2 separate regions of the Homo sapiens genome follow, and region 2 is linked to region 1. Evidence: promoter capture Hi-C in 16 types of primary human blood cells and fetal thymus (Javierre and others, 2016). All regions are on one chromosome and are shown on one strand. Each heading gives the region's core, a stretch centred on a gene start or on the middle of the fragment in contact. The rest is flanking DNA. Distances are from core to core; before and after follow the strand shown.

Region 1 (4,393 bases), core at 502-3,001:
GTTTTCTTTACCCCAAGCAGTTTCCTCTGCCTGGAATCTCCCCTCCTGCTTCGCAGCCTGGCTTACAATTCATTCCTCGGAGTTGGCCTCAGCTCTCCTCTCCTCGGGAGGCCTTCTCCAGCCCACGCCCCACCCTGCCACACCCCTACTGGGCGCTCTTCCCCACGGACTACAGGCCTTCCCCTTCCCTCTGGGCTGGGGGCAGCTGGGGCTGAGTATAAGTCTTACTCACGTTGGTGCCGCCAGCCCCAAAACAAAGCCTGGCCCACGTGGGTGCTCCGCGTATGTGTGTGGCTCTAGGCGGAGATGCCGGGGGTGGAAAGAGCCGGTAACAGAAACAGAACGTGCTAGAGGAAGAGCAGCCTGCAGGGAAGGCTGGCACAGATAACCACAAAAAGAAAGAAGGCCCCCGCATCACGTCTTCACCAAGACCCCACTGGCAAGGCGAGGACAGCGCCTTTGGGTGGATGCATCTGTGACCCAGAGGCAATGCTGGCTGTCCTGGTGTCTGATTTGATTGCATCTGATTTCAAAATTTGATCTCTGCTTCCTTCTGAAAACCTCATTCCCTTATGTCAGTTGTCAACAAGCCCTTGTCTAGTGCGGGCAGACTGTTTTCCATCAAGCAGTCCCAGCCAGGCTAACAATAAAATGGTTGGCAGTGAGCTTGGGGGCAGAAACCTGTTTCCATCCATGTGTCCCCGCAGCTAGCAAAGCCCTGGCACACGGCTGACCCTCAATAAATGCTTGCTGAATGGGTGAATTGTGTCTGCTTCCCCAGGAATAGGGGTGGGAGGCCTGAAGCCCCTGGGGACCGGTGGGGGCAGACAGCCTGAGATTAAACTTGATCCATAGATAATCCCCCAAATCCAGAAGCCACCTGGACAACAGTTGGCTGAACTGAGCTCCATCGTGGGATACATGCTGATGGTACTGCTGAGTTCACCAAGGGTCTCCCCGGGACCAGAAAACAGCTCCTCAAAATACAACTTATTATTCTAATCATTATTGGAGAGTGACAGAGAAAAGAGCGTCAATCCTTTGAGGGCAGAATCCATTTAGGAAGATTAAATGGCTATTCTCACCGCCGACCCCCAACCCCCGTTTTTACTTTTACAAACTTTATTATGAAAAATATCAAACATACAGAAAAGTGGAGAAAACAGTATAACGAATCCGGCCACCCATCACCCAGCCTCAGCGATGACCAACCCGCGCCTGACCTCTCCAGTCATCTATACCCCACCCCTCGAGGCAAATCTCCGACGTCCTCTCCTTACACGCGCAGACCTCGGTAGCGACGGGAATCCGTTCCGGACTCCTCTGGGGCCCTGGCCGGCTCCCTCGGCCCTGCTCAGCGCGGCGCGGGCGGGTTCTCAGCCCACGTCCGTGAAGCTGAAGGCCGGATCGTGCGGCGCCGCCCCGCCCCCCACGGCGCTTCCTCCTCGGTCCGCACCGCGAGGGTCACCGCGGCCCCGGAGCGCCTGGGACACTCGACCGGCAGCCGCGGGTGATGCGCGAGTGAGTCCCTCAGCGAAGCGCGGAAGAGAGAACGAAGAGGCGCCTTCCACTTCCTCTCGCTCTAACGCCGGCACCCGCCCCGCGCGTCCCTCGCCCCCGCTGCCCCGCCCCCTGCAGGGCGTGGCCACGGCCCGAGGGGCGGGGAAACACCCATATTTGGCCTTATATGGGCAGCCGCGTCACGGACGGCACTCATTCACATAAAACGCTGCGCGGCCGGCGGAATCCCCGGCTTCTAGGGCGGCGAGCGGCCGGGCTGGCTATCGAGCGAGCGGGGCGGGAACGCGGAGTTGCGCCGCCGCTCGGGCGCCGGGCTCCGTCGCGGCCGCAGCCCCGCGGGTCGCCCTCCCGTGCCTCGCCCGCGGACACCCTGGCCGTGGACACCCTGGCCGTGGGCACCCGCGGGGCGCGCGGCGCGGGGCCGCTGGCCGGCGGCGGCGGCGGCATGAAGGTCACGTCGCTCGACGGGCGCCAGCTGCGCAAGATGCTCCGCAAGGAGGCGGCGGCGCGCTGCGTGGTGCTCGACTGCCGGCCCTATCTGGCCTTCGCTGCCTCGAACGTGCGCGGCTCGCTCAACGTCAACCTCAACTCGGTGGTGCTGCGGCGGGCCCGGGGCGGCGCGGTGTCGGCGCGCTACGTGCTGCCCGACGAGGCGGCGCGCGCGCGGCTCCTGCAGGAGGGCGGCGGCGGCGTCGCGGCCGTGGTGGTGCTGGACCAGGGCAGCCGCCACTGGCAGAAGCTGCGAGAGGAGAGCGCCGCGCGTGTCGTCCTCACCTCGCTACTCGCTTGCCTACCCGCCGGCCCGCGGGTCTACTTCCTCAAAGGTGAGCGCTCGGGGTCCCTGCCACGCTCGCCCCTCCGGCGCCCCCGGGTCCCCTCCCTGCGCCGGGGCGCCCTCCTACACCCTGGGACCGGGAGAGTCACCACCTGCAGGAGTCTGCACCCTGTGGCTTGTTGTGCGCTTGGGAGGGCACTGCAAATGTCAGCACTCAGAGCTCCCCCTCTTCCCCACCCGCGTTCCTCGAAAGCGCCCGGCAGCGGGTCTGCCCGGTGGTCTGGGTGGAGTTGGTTATGCTGCGGGGGCTGCTGCTGTTTAGCAGTTTGGGGGCCGTCGGCTCGTGCCGGGCACGAGCCCCCTTTCCAGACGCGAGCTTCGCCGCTGTCGCTGGGGTCAGGGCTCGGGGCCTTCCTGATAGACTGATCTGGCGGGATCAGCAGGTCGCGATCCACTCTCCCTTGGTGTGGCGCCGTGGTGCCCCCCTTCCTCCCGCCTAGCCAGCTGTGGTCTTCACCGACCCCCTTGCCTTTTTGACCTGGCGAGTCCCTTCCCTTTCCATTTCATTTTATTGCTTTTTATTGTTTCCCTCCGGCCTCTTCTCCCCTCCTAGGTCTTTTCTCTAGCTCAGTTTGGAGCTCACATCCTTTCCACCCTTTTCACCTCCTCCTTCCTCCGCCCCAGGATTATCCCTGGGACCCATCCTGAGCTGAGCCTACAGCCAGCCAGCCACGAAATAGAGGTGCGCGGGGGCAGGGTGGTATGGAGATTCTGCGGCCTTTGATTTGACACCTCCCGGAGCTACCGCCACAGGCCTGCCCATTTCACCTGCCGGGAAGATAACTTTGGCTTCTGGTGGTGGGTGGGTGATTGACTCTCAAAATCCAAAGCATTGGTTTTTTCTGGGTTACTTCCTATGACTGCTCCTGCTTTGTGTTTGAGTCCTTTGTAACCTCAAATGACACCCGGGGAGACCTGACCCACATGTAGAGATGAGGGTTTAGCCCCAGCAGGGCCCCAAGGCCGTGCCAGCCCTGGCGCGGACACCTTGGGATGTAACAGTGTTGGGGATCAGAGCTCGGTGCAGAGAGCCGGCGCCGAGTTAGGAGCCTGTTTTAAAGCCATGCAACTTGAGTTTCACACAGTCCGGGCCAGGAAGATTCTGGAGACAGTTCCCCTCTCTGCTAGCACCTCCTGCTGACTGGTCCCCTGTTGATTTCCTGTTGGAGAGTTAACAGAGGTAGATGGTAATCGTCCTTCTTCTAACAGCCTATCCCCCAGGGGATAGAGGGTTGGCCCTCTGGCTCTGCAGAGGTTTCAGCGTGCCTCCTGATTTCTTTCTCTTCCTAATATGGTTTTTATCTCCTGTGGTTTGGAGAAGTTTCTGCCTCAGTAGTATGAAAGAGGTTCCAGGAGACCCTCCCTGGTCCCACCTCTCCTCCCCATGCTTCTCTAAGCTGGCCCTGCTGACAGTTTAGAAGTTGTCGCCACAAAGTAGGCAGCTCTATAGACTCACATCTCAGGAAAACTGGGTTAAAATGTTTTTTAAAAGAAGGTAACATATACACAGGTAAAAATTTGAACAGCATGAAGGCCCTGTGATGAGAAGCGGGTCTTCTGCATATCTTAGAACCCAGTTCCACTCCCCAGAGACAGTCGTCAACTATTTTTTGTTTACCTTTAGATAGTTTTTCATAAGTATCTTAGAAATAGATTGATTTTGTATAGTCCCTGTCCTGCCTCTTGTATCTATCTAGATCTTGGAGACTTGTCCATATCTGATCATACATGTCTGTTTCACATTGAACCGGTCTCCTGTAATGACCATTAGGTTGCGTCCCGCCTCACTGCTCCAAGCAATGCGGTAGATGTCCTTCTCCATGTGCTCTTGCGTGTGCAGTGCCTTTCAGTAAATCATGAGAATTGCCAGGTCAAGAATTACATGCATTTTAAGTTTCAGTAGAAATTGCTTCATGCCTACCCTTATAACACTACTAAACTTTAAATTGTTGCCAGAGAAAATTTTTATTTCTTTACGTAATTCATGTGCAGATAGGAGTTCAGGTTTTAATCTGGTGGCATCTCAGATCTTGGTGG
Region 2 (4,393 bases), core at 752-3,251, 6.2 Mb before region 1:
AGGAATGCTTCACCCCCTGGCCTACGCAGGGGATGCAACAACTGGCCAGCCTTGGCCCAGCCTCCATGCTGATTGGGGACCACGTGTCTTTGCTCTATGCTTGGCTTTCTATTGATCCATCCAGGTTACCGGATCATCCTCTTGATTTGCATATAGCACTTACTCTCATGGCCTGGCCCTACAACTCTGAGATTGTACAGTAGTTATCGAATTTACGCAAATGCAAATCTATGTCTCTGGGAGCTAATGCTTGCAAAGCACTAAACAAATAGGTAAATAAAATAAAAAATTACTACATTATGAGAGAGGAAAGGGAGAAATGCTACCAGGATTTCTCAGGGAAATACTGCCCTTGAGGCACTGGCCAAGGAGATGCCCATAGCCAGGCTGACCTGAGTATCCAGTCTACCTGGCAGCTATCTTTCTGCTGGTGAGAGGGCCGCAGAGGTAGACAAAGCCCTGCACTATTGGACATCACTGTCCCCCACCCTCACCCCATGCTGCTCCTGCCTGGTTCTGACTCCAGCTTTGATAAGCGCAGTCCACCTTCTGGTCTTTGGTTTCCCATATGGCTTGTCTAGGACGCAGGGAAGAGACGACATTCAGTCTGTGTGATGTTTGCGAAGTCTCCTTGCAAATTAATAAACCAGCATTCTGATTCGTACACCCTCTTCTGGGAGCTTTCTCAGGGTGAATCAGTAGCTTGAGTCCAAACCACTCTGAAAATTATGGAAATTGGGTTTCTGAGCGGGCACAGCTAAGAGCCATGCCCTGGGACAGGTGACGTGATCCAGGTAAACACCACCCTCTGAGCAATCTGCTGGGCACCAGCTGGCCCCTCCCAGGAGGCATCTTGACTTCCTCACTGATGAGAAGCCTATTTTGTTTAAAGTGCCTATCGACAGTACATAGTGAAATGCTCGGTTCCAGCTAATTAAGCGCTCAGCTGTACGGTGTGGAAACTAAGAGATCATGTATATGGAACTGTGAAATGGAGTTTCAGGAAGGGTTCTTGGACGAACTTGAGAAGGGCATTTGTGGGTGAATGGGACTTCAACAAGGAAGCAAGAGACCACAGATGGGGATTAGGGGTTTGGAAGGTCAGGACAGTTGTCTCACCTCCTTCCACTCGCTCTCTGCCTAGGTCAGGACCCTGCGTGCAGCCACCGCCGTTTCCCTCTGAGCCACACCTGGGGGCACTTACTCATCACCCTCATGCCAGGCCCCAAACTGGATCTGCCACCTCACACCGCCCAGAGATTAAGGAAAGTCACTTGATTCTTGGGCCAGGCTCCCCATCAGCCATCAAGGCCCGGCTTGCCTCTTTTCTTTCCTCCTCTGCCTCCTGCCAGATGAATTTCCCCTCCTTCCTCCACCTGGACTGAGAATGGGTATTTCCTCCTTTGACAGAGAAAGAAAAAGGCAACTGTTCTTCCCCCTTTCCCACGAGGGTTCCCAATTAAACTAGCTTTTTAAGCTTAAGTTGCTTCTTGGTCTATGAATGCCCAGTGATTAAGACTCACCTTCCAGGCTCTGGAACACTTAACATCCCTGTGCCTCAGTTTCCTCATCTGTAAAATGGAGTTAACAATACCTAACTCATACGGCTACTGTGAGGATTAAATGAGTTAATACAGGCTAAGTACTTTTGGGGAAAAAAAAAAAAAGCCTGGCGAATGTTAAGCCCTCAATAGTGGTTGTTTATCAGGGCTGCTGTGTGAATGGTGGACCAGGCAGTGTACTGCTTAAGGCACCTGGCTGAGGGGTGAGGATAAATCCAGCTCACATGCCACTTATCCAGCTATATGGCTTGGCTATGTCCACTCAAGTAAGGCCAGTATTTCTAAGAGGCATCAAGCCCCATCCTCTTGCCAAGACAGAGCACCTTATTCTAATTCATGCGAAGGACTGAATAGGCTAGCAGCAGCCCTGGAGGTTATCATGAACAGTTCTCAGCATCCTCCTGGCTCTGTACCCCTCCCCAGCAAGACTGGATGAGAGAAGGGTCCAGGATGGCCTGGTGTCATCCATAATAAAGTCCTGCTTCTCAGCTCCCAGAACACTTGGAGCACCCACCCCTTCCAAGCAGATTCTCCATTAAAGCCCCACAGGCTGCCGTGCCACCTCAACCCTACTGGGGCAGACTCTCAACTCGAAACATGGAACCTGAGTCTTGGACTCTGAAAGCACCTTCTCCTGCCCAGTTATTTTTTTTTGGGGGGGGGGGGGCAGCGGGGCATTGGGGGGTAGGTTAAAGACAGGGTCTGAACTCTGTCACCCGGATGGAGTGCAGTGGCACGATCCTAGCTCCAACCAAGTGATCCCAACCAAGTGATCCCAGCTCTAAGCCTGGAACTCCTGGGTTCAAGCAATCCTCCCACCTCAGCCTCCCAAAGCTCTGGGAAGACAGGCAGCCACCCAGCCCAGACTCTTTCCTAACTGTTGATGGCTACCTGTCTCTGCTGATAGCTGTGAAAGGAAAATACAACCTTAGGACCCCAAGCTCAGGATGCCAAAGGGAAAAGTTAAGCTTGGGAACTCAGTCATGCAAAAAACAAAACCGAAAACAAAACTGCATTCCTTTTGTTGCCAAACAGATAGCTATAATTTCACATGCTTACTTTATCTTACGTAAAATGTAGATTTACTGAGCATGAGAAGAATGCACCCAGGGAGAGCAGAGAGTCAGTATAACTACTTCATGGTTACCCACAAGTGGAGAAAATCCGAAGGCAGAATGGCCCAGAGCAGCCGCAACATACAGGGAATTAGCAAACAATGAAAGCCACTTAGGCACGAGGGCTGGAGGGAGGACTCAAAAACACAGCCTATTCTGTTTTCGTAAGGAGGAAAGACAGTAATCCACTTTTCTGATACTCTATTTTCAGGGCTCACCTGGGCCTAAAACTGCACCAACCACAGATGAACTTTAGCTGGCAGTCAGATAGACTCGGTTTGTAAAAGGCAAGAGCACTGGGTCATATCCAAAAAAAGAACAAGAAAATAGACCGCGACCCCGATTTAGATCCAAAAGACCAGAGTCCAGATTGCGACCAATATCTGGTACTCTACTGTTTGTGAAATGAGACCAGTATCTGGTACTCTACTAGTTGTGAAAGGGTGCTTTTCTCATACCAGCAGAGGGGCAAAAGGCAAAATGAGGCCCCTGCCTGGTTCCGTAAAATATTTTACCTTCCTGGTCGGTGGCTTTTTTTTTCTTTTTCTTTTTCTTTTTTTAAGAGAAAGCGTTTTGGATGGGGAGTCCCGCCCCGGGAGTCTTCACCAGGCGGCCAGAATGGCAAAGTCACAGGGATGGGGTTGAGGGTGGGGTTAGGGGTGAAGGGGCAGAGAGTTATTTGCAGCCCAAGAGCAAGTCTGCACAGCGTGAGGTCTGGCCCACTAATAGTCCCGAAAGAGGAAGCGGCGGGGATTTTATCCGGCCTGAAGCAGCCCCATAACTTCACTACCATGAACCGAGAAAAAAAAACTTCACGCCTATTCCTCCCTTACAGGAAGGGAGGGAAGGGGAAGGGGAAAAGGGGGCAGCAAATGAGCAGGGCGAACCGGCTTTTCTTTCTTCGGTAGCGCTCTGCTCAGATGTGAGAAGTAACGGGTCACCTGGCCACTAGGAACAAAAATGTGGTCCCGCTCTGGGCTCCGAGGCTGCGCGCGCCTCGAGGAGGAGCTGCCCGCAGCCCTGGCTGGAGCGAGCGCCCGGGACGCATCCCCCGACGCGGCGGGAACAGGATGCGGGACCGCGAGGAGACAATACGCCCGCCTGGGCACGCGCGCTTTAAGGGAAGGGGGTCTCCAAAGTCAGCCCCCACCCGGGAGGAGCAGGCGCCCGCGCTCCCCACACCCTCCTGCGCCCCCTCTGTCGGCAGCCATCTCCGACACAGCTCCTCCGAGCTCGCGCTCTCCATCGCGCCCTTCTTCCTTCAGCACACTAGGCTGCCCTGGGACTTACGATTGGCTTGGGTCCCCGGTCCCGGTCCCCGCCGCGGGAGGACGGCTCCAGCACAGGCTTTGCGCGCAGGTCGAGGGCCGAGGCGCCGCTGCTTGCAGGCGGCTGCGGTGGAGCTTGCGGCCCGGCACTTAGAGGGGCGCGGGCGGCGATGCCCCCGCTGGCTCCCACCTTCTGGCCTGCAGCGGCCGGCTCTACTGAACTTCAGAGTTACTCATTTCCTGGATGTCACAAAAACTTTTTCCTCCTTATAAGAACAAAACACCCGCCTCTACCCGCGGCCCCGGAAGCTCCTTAAGGAGGACCGTGTGGGTTTCGGTGGTTGGGCCCAGGATCCGCCGGGAAGACCTTCCCAGTGAGCCCCCAGAAACTTCCCCGGCACGGCAGAACTGGAGAGTGACTGGGAGAGACGGAATCAGGCCAGTGGAG

The links. The method cuts DNA at HindIII sites, captures the fragments that hold promoters and counts their contacts. A CHiCAGO score of 5 or more calls a contact.
Region 2: a contact is called between a fragment that was not itself captured here and the fragment with the promoter of DUSP5 in region 1, in 1 of 17 cell types (total B cells). The highest score is 5.4, in total B cells.

What each region holds. Positions count from the first base shown.
Region 1 is chr10:110,496,156-110,500,548 of GRCh38, forward strand. It overlaps DUSP5 (dual specificity phosphatase 5), which reads left to right and starts at 1,752. Exons shown (of 4, transcript NM_004419.4): 1 at 1,752-2,345. The coding sequence starts at 1,967. It overlaps DUSP5-DT (DUSP5 divergent transcript), which reads right to left and starts at 327. Exons shown (of 2, transcript NR_187547.1): 1 at 233-327. RefSeq lists an enhancer at 274-797 and silencers at 1,279-1,808, 1,819-1,958, 2,029-2,088, 2,209-2,478. The HindIII fragment of the contact is 7,811 bases long and covers 1-4,393 here.
Region 2 is chr10:104,334,279-104,338,671 of GRCh38, forward strand. ITPRIP (inositol 1,4,5-trisphosphate receptor interacting protein) reads right to left here and starts at 4,187. Exons shown (of 2, transcript NM_001272013.2): 1 at 3,968-4,187. It also overlaps a transcript of CFAP58 not described here. RefSeq lists an enhancer at 2,865-3,064. The HindIII fragment of the contact is 1,053 bases long and covers 1,476-2,528 here.